Regions from separate parts of the Homo sapiens genome. Here region 2 is linked to region 1. The links are contacts of gene promoters, found by promoter capture Hi-C in blood cells and fetal thymus (Javierre and others, 2016). All regions are on one chromosome and are shown on one strand. The core of a region is centred on a gene start or on the middle of the fragment in contact, and the rest is flanking DNA. Distances in the headings are between cores, read along the strand shown.

The links. Contacts are between HindIII fragments. The CHiCAGO score rates a contact against its expected background, and 5 or more counts as called.
Region 2: a fragment that was not itself captured here is called in contact with the fragment with the promoter of MRPS9-AS1 in region 1 in 1 of 17 cell types (naive CD8 T cells); the score reaches 5.6 in naive CD8 T cells.

What each region holds. Positions count from the first base shown.
Region 1 is chr2:105,100,978-105,105,790 of GRCh38, forward strand. It overlaps MRPS9-AS1 (MRPS9 antisense RNA 1), which reads right to left and starts at 1,967. Exons shown (of 4, transcript NR_110227.1): 1 at 1,859-1,967. LOC105373527 (a long non-coding RNA gene) reads left to right here and starts at 780. Exons shown (of 3, transcript XR_923138.3): 1 at 780-3,786; 2 at 4,064-4,230; 3 at 4,322-4,502. RefSeq lists enhancers at 2,523-3,384, 3,385-4,245. The HindIII fragment of the contact is 13,539 bases long and covers 29-4,813 here.
Region 2 is chr2:106,535,344-106,540,290 of GRCh38, forward strand. It overlaps a transcript of CD8B2 not described here. Among named protein-coding and RNA genes, the nearest start is that of CD8B2, 50 kb to the left of the region's middle. The HindIII fragment of the contact is 1,663 bases long and covers 2,807-4,469 here.

The sequences.
Region 1 (4,813 bases), core at 717-3,216:
AGCACAGATATGGAGAAAAGTGGCTTCAAGCTTCCCTTCCCCAGGAAGTCTCAGCTGAGGAGCCTGAGGGAGGACTTGCATGAAAGGAACAGATCCCTCTGAATGAAGGCACCCAGCCAGGAGTGCACATAGCTCTGGAAGAGCACGGGCTGCGGGGAGGTGGGCTGAGTCCTTGACTGTGGCCCCCAGGACCTGTCATGCACTGGCTGTGCACAAGTCAGGTGTGGGGAGTGTAGCTTGCCCCCGTGAGGCCCACCAGGCAGTCTTTATGATTGACCATGGTTTGGCATGAAAGATCACACATAGGTGTTTGGCCAGGAGTGAGACTCTTCAGTCATAGCTAAGCGTTCAATTGAGTTTTGCTCTAGGATTTCTAAAGTACCTTAAAATGAAGAAACTTTGGCATTTTAACTCTAATGCAATTGTGCAGTAGGTTTTTGAGGGAGGAAAGGGGCAGTTGGTAACAGGGGTACTTTAAAACCCATTTTAAGCCAGGTGTGGTGGCTCACGCCTGTAATCCCAGCACTTTGGGAGGCTGAGGCAGGTGGATCACTTGAGGCCAGGAGTTTGAGACCAGCCTGGCCAACATGGTGAAACCCCATCTCTACCAAAAAATACAAAAATTAGCCGGGTGTGGTGGCATGCGCCAATAGTGCCAGCTACTCGGGAGGCTGAGGTGGGAGAATCGCTGGAACCCAGGAGGCAGAGGCTGCAGTAAGTCGAGATTGTGCCACTGCACTCCAGCCTGGGTAACAGTCAGATCCTGTCTCAAAAAAAAAAAAAAAAAATCCATTTCAATGCAGTTATTTTAAGTAAAAATATTGCTTCAAGAATTAGACCCTCAATGCTCAATTATCCTTTATATAAAGAGTTGTATGCCACTGATTTCTTCATAAGTGTCTTTTTAAAATAATCTTGAATAAGTTCTGAGACATGTATATACACATCAAATCCTTTATGAGGTAAAATAAAATAACATGGTGATGAACAAGTGAGAGTGAGTACCCAGTACCCTGCGGTACCCAGTGCCCTTTTCATTTCAGATGAAACTGTAGAAAATACTTTCTGGGGTTTTTTCTGTGTGGCGGTCATTCTCTAGTGAAATTGTCTGTGGCAGGTTTTGGTCGGTGGTGTTGATTTAGCCTGTATCTGTTGGAGTATACTTTTTACCATTTTGACAAGAGAGAAGTGACAAGTGGTTACCCCACGTGGCGTGGGTGTGCTGAGATGGGATGGCGGGCAGCCCTGCCGGCACGGATCGCCCGCTTGCTGAGCTCTTGCCATACCTGGTGTCCTGGGGCAGTGCAGAGCTGCCTGAAGTATATGCCATCTGGCCCTGCATCAGCTACTGTTGGTATCGTGGAGGAGACAAAGTCCTCAAGTCTAACGGGAGACCTGGAGTGCTGCTCGTACAGTGCCAGGAGGAGAGCTGAGGAAGGGGGCCCTGAGGACAGTAGCACTCTGAGGAGGAGGTGGTGGGGAAAAAAGAGGCCATGAAAGGAGAGGGTGGGAGTACAGATGGAGAAAATGGCGAGAAAGGAGGAAGGAAAGTTCAGGAAATGTGCAGGGAGTGAAGCCAGGCGGGCCAGGGCATTGCTGGGGAGGGACGAGGTCCCTGCGGAAACCAGCTGGGAAGGAGGCTGAGGTGGATTTGTGGAGGGTCTGAAATTCATGGTGATGTTCCTGCACTGCCAAAGGGGAATCAGCCTTTTTTTCTCCTTTGAGAGAACAGATGAGGGTTGAAATTAGAACTGTGTTTTTAAACTATATTTTAGCAACCTTTAAAATATATGTATATATATATTAAGTAGAGTCATAGTGCATAATATAACAACAAAATCGGAGCCTTAACTCTCACCTTCTTCTGGGCCTCAGGAACCCCGAGCTCATGGGAAAAGTCTTGAGGATCTCCCCATCAGGAAGGTCACGGAGGGACTGCAGGAGCAGGGAGTTGCTAGAAGGAAGAGACCTGCCAGGCAGCTATTGTACATGGAGGGGATGGGACCCAGTGCAGGGAACAGAAAGGAAGTAGGTGTGAGAAACGTTGCCACTCTCACCTGGACCAAGTGCGATAGCTGATTGGCTGCAGGAGAGCTGGGGGCGGGTATTCGGTATGAGATCCACAGGCTGCTGGGAATGCAAAGAGCCAGGAAGACAGGAAGAAAAGTTGATGGGAGGAGGAGGAGACACCAGAGGGGTCGGCTCGGGTTTCAGGTGTTCGGGGCCACCTCATATGAGATGCTTGAAATAATTGGACTGTGACTCAGGCGACGGGTCAGCCTGCTGACAGATTTGGGAGGCTGCTGCGTGGAAGGGGAATTTGAAACGTGGGCTGGATCAGCACGGAGGATTGGGCAGGGAGAAGGCCAAGGCTCAAGTGGAGAAACAGCCATCAAGTTTAAAGTAGGAAGGAGGGAAGAGCCAGCAAAGGGGGTGGTGAGCGGTGATAGGAAGACAGCAAGCCAGGCACAGCGGTCAGGGACGTCAGTGATGACCAAGAAGCGGCCTCCAGGAGAGGCGAATGTTACAGGTGCCTTTCCCCGTGAGGTCTGGAAGAAATACTGGCTTGTAACCTCGCAGGCCACTGTACCCCTTGAGTCTCAATTTCTTTGAGTCAAATTGGGGTCATTTTCTGCCCTACCAGCCCCATCTGCCCTTGTGTGACGATCAAGTAAGATAAGTGTAAAACCACCGGCCATCTGCTCCATTCCAGCTGTAATAGGAACTAGACTGTGGACAGTGTTGATGTGAGGCCTCCAGGGAAGAGGATTAAAGTATATCGGAGCTCTTGTTCCTTTGTTCAGGCTTGACACAGTCTCCTTTGTCACCAGGTTTGTTAACCACAGGAGCACTGAGCTTCTCAGACATCCCACACCTTTGTGGGAAATACCTGTTGGGAAGTATTTTTGACACACACTGTGTGCATACATTGGGAAGAGCTCTCTAGTGGCTATTTTTTTTTAATAGGCATTTGACAAGATTATTGCCTTAAGGCGACAGTGAGAGCTAATGCTTCTGTAGCTCCTATTCTGTTCCAGATACTGTTCTAAATACAAGTAACGCATTCGATCCTCTCAGCCAACCCTATGAGGTAGATATTGAGAAAATTAGTGCTCAGAGAGGTTCAATAACTTGCCCAAAGTCCTAGAGCTAGTGAGTGCCCAAGCCAGGTTGGAACCTAGAATCCCGGCTCCAGAGCCAGTGCTCTGAACCACTGTGGAAGAATACCAGGCGGGCTATGACGGCATGCAAGCCAGGCACACAGCCTGTGCTAAAACCGTCTGTGAAAGGAGAGAAGACTGCATTGGTACAGTCAGAAGACTTGATGGGAGAGGTGGATGTCAGCCAGATCCTAATGGATGGGTGTTGATTAGTAAGCACTATACTATGCTCTCCAACCAAGCTAGAACCCTCATCTTATTCAGGAAGGCGATGTCATAACCACTCCATCAAGCTGGGATCATTATGAGGACAGTCAGTGGGCCATACGATTGGAGGAAAGCATTCCGGGCAATGTGATGGGAAGAGCTATGAGAGCCCAGGGATGAAGTCAAGGTGACTGTGCCACCTGTTTGCCCAGTGTGGCCCCACCATCCCGCCATCCCAGTGTGACTACTAGATAGTTCCCCCTTTTACTCTCAAGTGTCCCAGTTTGAATGACAAATCATGAGTTTGAGGAAGTCTGCCAAACATTGAAATCATTTGCAGAGTGTCACAGATGTGTGCGTTGTTTCTGGGCATAGGTCCCTTGTTCAGAACATGCCCTAAGGGGGCCATCCCCATGGCGTAAGGAGTTTGGTTTTTGTTTTTTGTTTTTTTAAGGAAAATGAGCCTAGCCTTTGTGTGCAGCACAGAATCCAGTGGGGGAAGTGCAGCAGGTGTTGGTAGGAGGCTCCGGAGATAAGGCCTGTACCAGGTGGGAGGGGAAGGCGGGCCCCCAAGACTGCAGAGGTATTGGTGGTGATGTTTATCTGAAGCTGGGAGGTGGTTGCCTTAGTGTCCACTTTATTATACCTTCCAAATACGACTCACATGCTTATTATGCACTACTGTATCGTAAAAGTAGATGAAAAACCACCTGAAGAAGTATGTACATGGTCCAGAACACGGGCTCTGGAGTTCCTGTGTGACTTTGGACGAGTTGATCACCTTAAACCTCTACTGCTCATTTGTGAAGGAGAGAGAATAGCAACACCTGTCCAAGGATTTCGAGGATTTGCAACAATCCACGTGAGCCACTTAGTCTATAGGAAGAGCTCTATAAACATTGGTTATGATTCTCTTCCCCCCTCAGAAAATCCCTTCTTAACTTCTGTCATAGGGTTCAACAAGGGTGCACAGAGACCCAAGAGTGTGGAAGAGGAAGCCATAGAGTGATGGAATAAATAACTGGTTTCCTTGAAAATGAATGGCAAAGTCATCTGGTACATTTTCCCTCCTTTTTTTAGCACTAAGTTCATTGACCTGACTACTCAGAAAAAATTAAAACATGATGATATCAATGTTGGAGTGATTTGATGTTGTAGACCAGATGTTTTTATGCCAGTTAAAATACCTCAGCTAGTCTCCATTCAGGAAACCCCACAGACATTGAGTGTGTTCAGCCTCTCACAGAACCATCAGAACCATATTAGGTAGCTCCTGCTAAGAACTTATAAATATTTATAAGAAAGGATCAGTATATTGTTTTTATAAATATTGAAGTTTAATAGAAAGGCTATAATGCATCCTCCAAAATTAAGAGGCAAGGAGTAATAATAATAATCAGGCAAACAATTATTGCCACCTTTGCTCAATAACTTTGTAGGCTACA
Region 2 (4,947 bases), core at 2,388-4,887, 1.4 Mb after region 1:
GTTTGCTGAGGTCCAGGGCTGCCATCACCTGAGAGAAAACATCAATATTAAAAACATAGAGTTAAGGCTAAACAGAAATAGTCTACTATGCAAAGAAGGTCCTTGTGTAGGAAATTGAAGGTGTTTGCCCATGTGATGGATGAGGCTCCTACCAGCTTTTACATACTTTTTAATCAGAACAGTAAGGCAAGTTTATAAAATAGAGAAAACATCACCCGTAATTCCATCACCGTAATACAATTTTAAAAATTCTTGTGTGTTCCTTTGTTCCCACGCTTGGGTATACATCTTACCCAGTTGCATAAAGCCCTTCTACTTTTCTCTACTCAACAGGGGAGCTGGACATTTTTCCATGTTGTTATTTGCTAGTTGTCATTCTGTAAATCCCAGCTCTAACATTCTAAAGCTTGTAAGAGATTTTATTCACCAGATTCCAGCTAATGGTTTATATATTAGTCCATTCTTGCACTGCTATAAATACCTGAGGCTGGGCAACTTATTAAAAAGAAAAAAGAGGGTTAATGGGCTGACAGTTCTGCAGGCTGTGCAGGAAGCATAGAGGCTTCTGCTCTGCTCCTGGGGAGACCTGAGGAAGTTTTCAATAATGGTGGAAGGCACGCAGGGGAGGCAGGTATGTCTTACATGGCCAGAGTAGCAAGAGAGAGAAGAGGCAGGTGCCACACACACTTTTTTTTTTTTTTTTTTTTTGAGACAGAGTTTTGCTCTTGCTGCCCAGGCTGGAGTGCAAGGGTGCAATCTCAGCTCATCACAACCTCTGCCTCCAGGGTTCAAGCGATTCTCCTGCCTCAGCCTCCTGAGTAGCTGGGATTACAGGCAAGTGCCACTGTGCCTGGCTAATTTTGTATTTTTAGTAGACAGGGTTTCTCCATGTTGGTCAGGCTGGTCTCGAACTCCTGACTTCAGGTGATCCGCCTGCCTTGGCCTCCCAAAGTGCTGGGATTACAGCCATGAACCACTGCGCCTGGCCACCACACACTTTTAAACAACTAGATCTCCTGAGAACTCTGCTACAAGAACAGCAGCAAAGGGAGAAATCCACCCTCAAAATCCAATCACCTCCCACCAGGCCCTGCCTCCAACTTTGGGGATTAAATTTGACATGACATTTGGGCAGGGACACAGACCCAAACCATTTCAGCTTAGATATAGGTTGGTGGGAGAGGTTTCCCAAAACTTACTCCTAATGGACTTTAGATTCTTACTGTGACATGACTTTGCTGTATCAAGTATATTCAGCTTTGCTGTAGAGAACAATGAATAGATGAAAAGGGTGAAACTGAGAAGCATATTAAGCACAGAGGGTAGGCGAGCTGCCAGCTCATGAGGTGCAGGTGCATCTCAAAGGGTGTGTTACGGTAAGGAAATGAGTGAGAAGTGGCTTGTGAAGTAAGGGCAGATTCATCAATGTGTTCAATGGTGAGTTAATTATGGGTGTGATGTGTTGAAGACAGAAGTCTTACATGGAATATATGATGGCGCAAATAGTGTTACTGATCATGCCCTCACTGGACTGACAGCTCTGTTACCCCTGCATCAGCCCAGAGCATGCCAATCAAACTGTGGCTGTCCAGCAGGCTAACTGGCGACCTGCAGCTATAGCCAGTGCAGTACGTCTCTCAGAAGAACAAGTTGCTGTGTTTCTCCAATAGGACACATCTGTGCTGTTGGCTCTAGGTGCCCTTTGTCTGTGAGGCCCTGATCCAACTCCAAATCTGGTCTTCGTCACCACCCCATCAGCAGGGAAAACCGATGTGGGAGAGGAAGACAGGACATGTGAATATGGTGCTAACCAGGCCTCATGCTCTGGGCTTCCCCCCAAATGCTGCCCTGCTATTAACCTGCCCCGTCTCTCACCCCTCACTTCCCTATGTGTGTTTTAAACACATTTAATAAACCATGGGCTCATCACAAGGTCATCAGATGATGTCATACCCTGGAGACAACTTTCATTTCCCTAAACTTGCACTTCCCTAGTAGTCCTAGTGAAGCTCTTCAGTTTCAGAGTTTACATTTCCTTGTATGACCACAAGCTTGAACTTCCACTGAGGAGGCAGAAAATTATGGTTCAACGCCACCAAGACACGACATCTTAAAAACAGCTTATCTTACTTAATTTTAAGTACAGTATGCACAGAAATCCCCAAATGAGGTTAAGAGAGGTGTGTGGCACACTTGCACAGATTTCTCATTTGAATCCACATATGCTTAAAATCTCTTTTTACTTGGTGTAGAGCTTGGTTCTATAAGTGCCCTTCAGCTCTCTAAACACCAGATTGTAGCTCCTTGTGGAATGCCCGAGGAAGCGACAAGGAATGAAAAGAAGAGCATGGCTGTTCTTACTGAAGTGGCGGTCGATTTCTAAAAGCCCTTGCAGAGGATTTCTGTTGTTGCCACCTCTAATTAGTACTGCTGGGATTAAACTTAATAGGTTCTGAAGATAAAGTTAGCACGAAGGAAAAACAAACACACTGACAAAGCACATTCAGAATCAGCCGTGGGACAGCCGTCACGCCTGCTTGTTGCTAAGCTAGCTTCAGGCACCTCGCTTTGGAAATTAGCAGGGTAATGAATGTAAAATAAATGAGAAGTCTCTGTGAGGCTCCTTTTCTGACCTGCGCTGAGAGCTGGTGGATGCATGGCCCCAGAGGAGTCTCAAATGCTCAGTGATTGCGGAGGCCTGCGGACCTTCAGTGCTCAAAGTGTTTGCACGCATCTGGGTGTGCCCAGACAAAGCTGCTGGTCTAGGGAAGCGTAAGTCATCAGCTTGACTACCAAAGACCTTGCAAGCTTCCTCATGGTGGCACAAAACTAGCCAATATGACTCAATTCCCAAATAACACTTGCCAGTGATTTGAGAAACGGGAAAATACGGTATAGGCAGGGTGGTCAACTCAGGGGCTGAGGAAGGTTTAGGCTGTGAAGGGGAATTTTGAGATGGAGCCTTCAGCCTATGTAGGCTATGTATACATGAAGAATATTCATCTTGTTGCTTTTTGCTTGAAACGGTACACAAATGGCCTGCTTTTCTCTTTACTTGTTCTTAAAATTGATCAGAAGTAGCTTTCTTGGCTTGTTTCATAAGATCTTAGGACTTGAGCATCTACTATTAGCAGTGATTAAAATTTCCCCATGTTGTAATAAGGGTGACTGTGAATCTGTGTGGCACTTGAGATCTCACAAAGTGCATTTACCTTGGAAAATTCACCTTTGCGCTATCTAGAGCCGAGCAGTGTCCTGAGTAGGAATTCCTGTCTGTAACACCCTTCCCCACCTCCTACTCCCCAGATGTTCACCTGCATGTCACTATCTCTGGTAATAGCTGGCTTCCGTGTGTCCAGGCACTCCTGGGTCTTGGCCACATATTTTCAAAGGTCTGGCTCTTGGCATCTGTGCTGAGCTTGGACCCCTCCCTCTTCATATTATGCTCTCCACCCACCCACCCTTCCACACTGCCTCAAGGCTTCCCCTGGGGGCCTTCCTTGCCCTTCCTCATCAGGCCGGGCACTGCCATCTGAAACAGTCTCATATGCAGTGTGTCCCCCTCCCAGAGCTTGTGCACGGTGTGACTGTTTATCTGTGTGACTGCATGTGTGTGATCAGTAGCTCATGAACTAGTGACACATGAGGACTTCAGAGCCGGGTTCTTGCAGCTGGTGTGTGCTGGCTGAACTTCTGACTCTACCTGGTCACAGCGCAAGTGAACACGTGTTCACTTACACACCTTGGCCTCACTCATTTCAGGGCCAGGGCAGTGCCTGCCCCATGGAGTTGCTGTGTTGATGAGTGAGGCACATGAAGCACTTAGCAGAGTGCCTGGTGCCCCCACAGCACTCGGGGCCCATGTGTGGGTCTCACCTGTGTGCTGAGACCTCCTGTGTCTCTTCACCACTGTGTCTCCAGCAGGTATCACAGCACCTAGCACAGGGCAAGCTCCTTATAAATTTGTGAAATAAATGGATGAATAAGTGAGTTCAAGGGGAAATATATATATTGGTCCCAAAAGGCAAACATATTTATATTTCTAAAATTTAGAGAACTACTTTATGGAATTGAAGTAAAGATGTTTCTTGTTTCCACGCCAAAACATGGAAAGTTGATGTACTTGGGACACAATACCATGTGTGCGGTGTGCTCATCTTTTATTCTGAAGACAAATAAGGGGTCTTACTGTGGAATTAGGGGGCCACACGGGGCTGCAGCTTCTGGGCATCATTGCTCTTTGCTGCTTAATTCCAGCTTACAGGATGTTTCACACAAACACCAAAAACATTTTTAAGATGGACCATATCATATTTATCATTGTCTCTACAGTGTTTGGCTTCAATGCATCAAACTTCAAAATATGTGTTTGCTTGAATTCCAATTTCTTGACGGATACACGGCTTGGAAACCAAGCCTCCTTTGGCTGATAAAATAAGAACAGAATCTGACACTTAAAAAATTATTTAAGCTTTGCCAAGTGGGAAAAAAAAGTGTATTCTCCTACTGCTGAGCATCTTGGCTAACTTAATCACTGTTCCCGTCACTGAATCTCCCTTTTTTGTCATGGGACTTCCTGATCGTTAAATCTATTTCATAGTAAACATAAGTGAATTTTGGTTTATTGTTATTCTTGTTTACATTGAGAATTAATTTTGAGTGGAAATTATATACTTCATGTTATGTAGATGAAGTTAGGGTGGATGTTATATTCCAATAATTTTATGGCTTGAAAGAAATTCAATTTTGTTATGTGGAATGATTTCCTAAGAATGAAAAAAGAAAATGACAGCTTCAATGATCAAAGAAAGAATCATGCAGAGAATCGTTTATGTAGACCTCTCAAATTAAAAAAAATATCCAAGTATTACTGTTTCTTAATTATGTGGTCTCAAGATGAGTGTTGGAATAATTATGTTATTAGAAACTCAGCCTTTGTGAGAAATT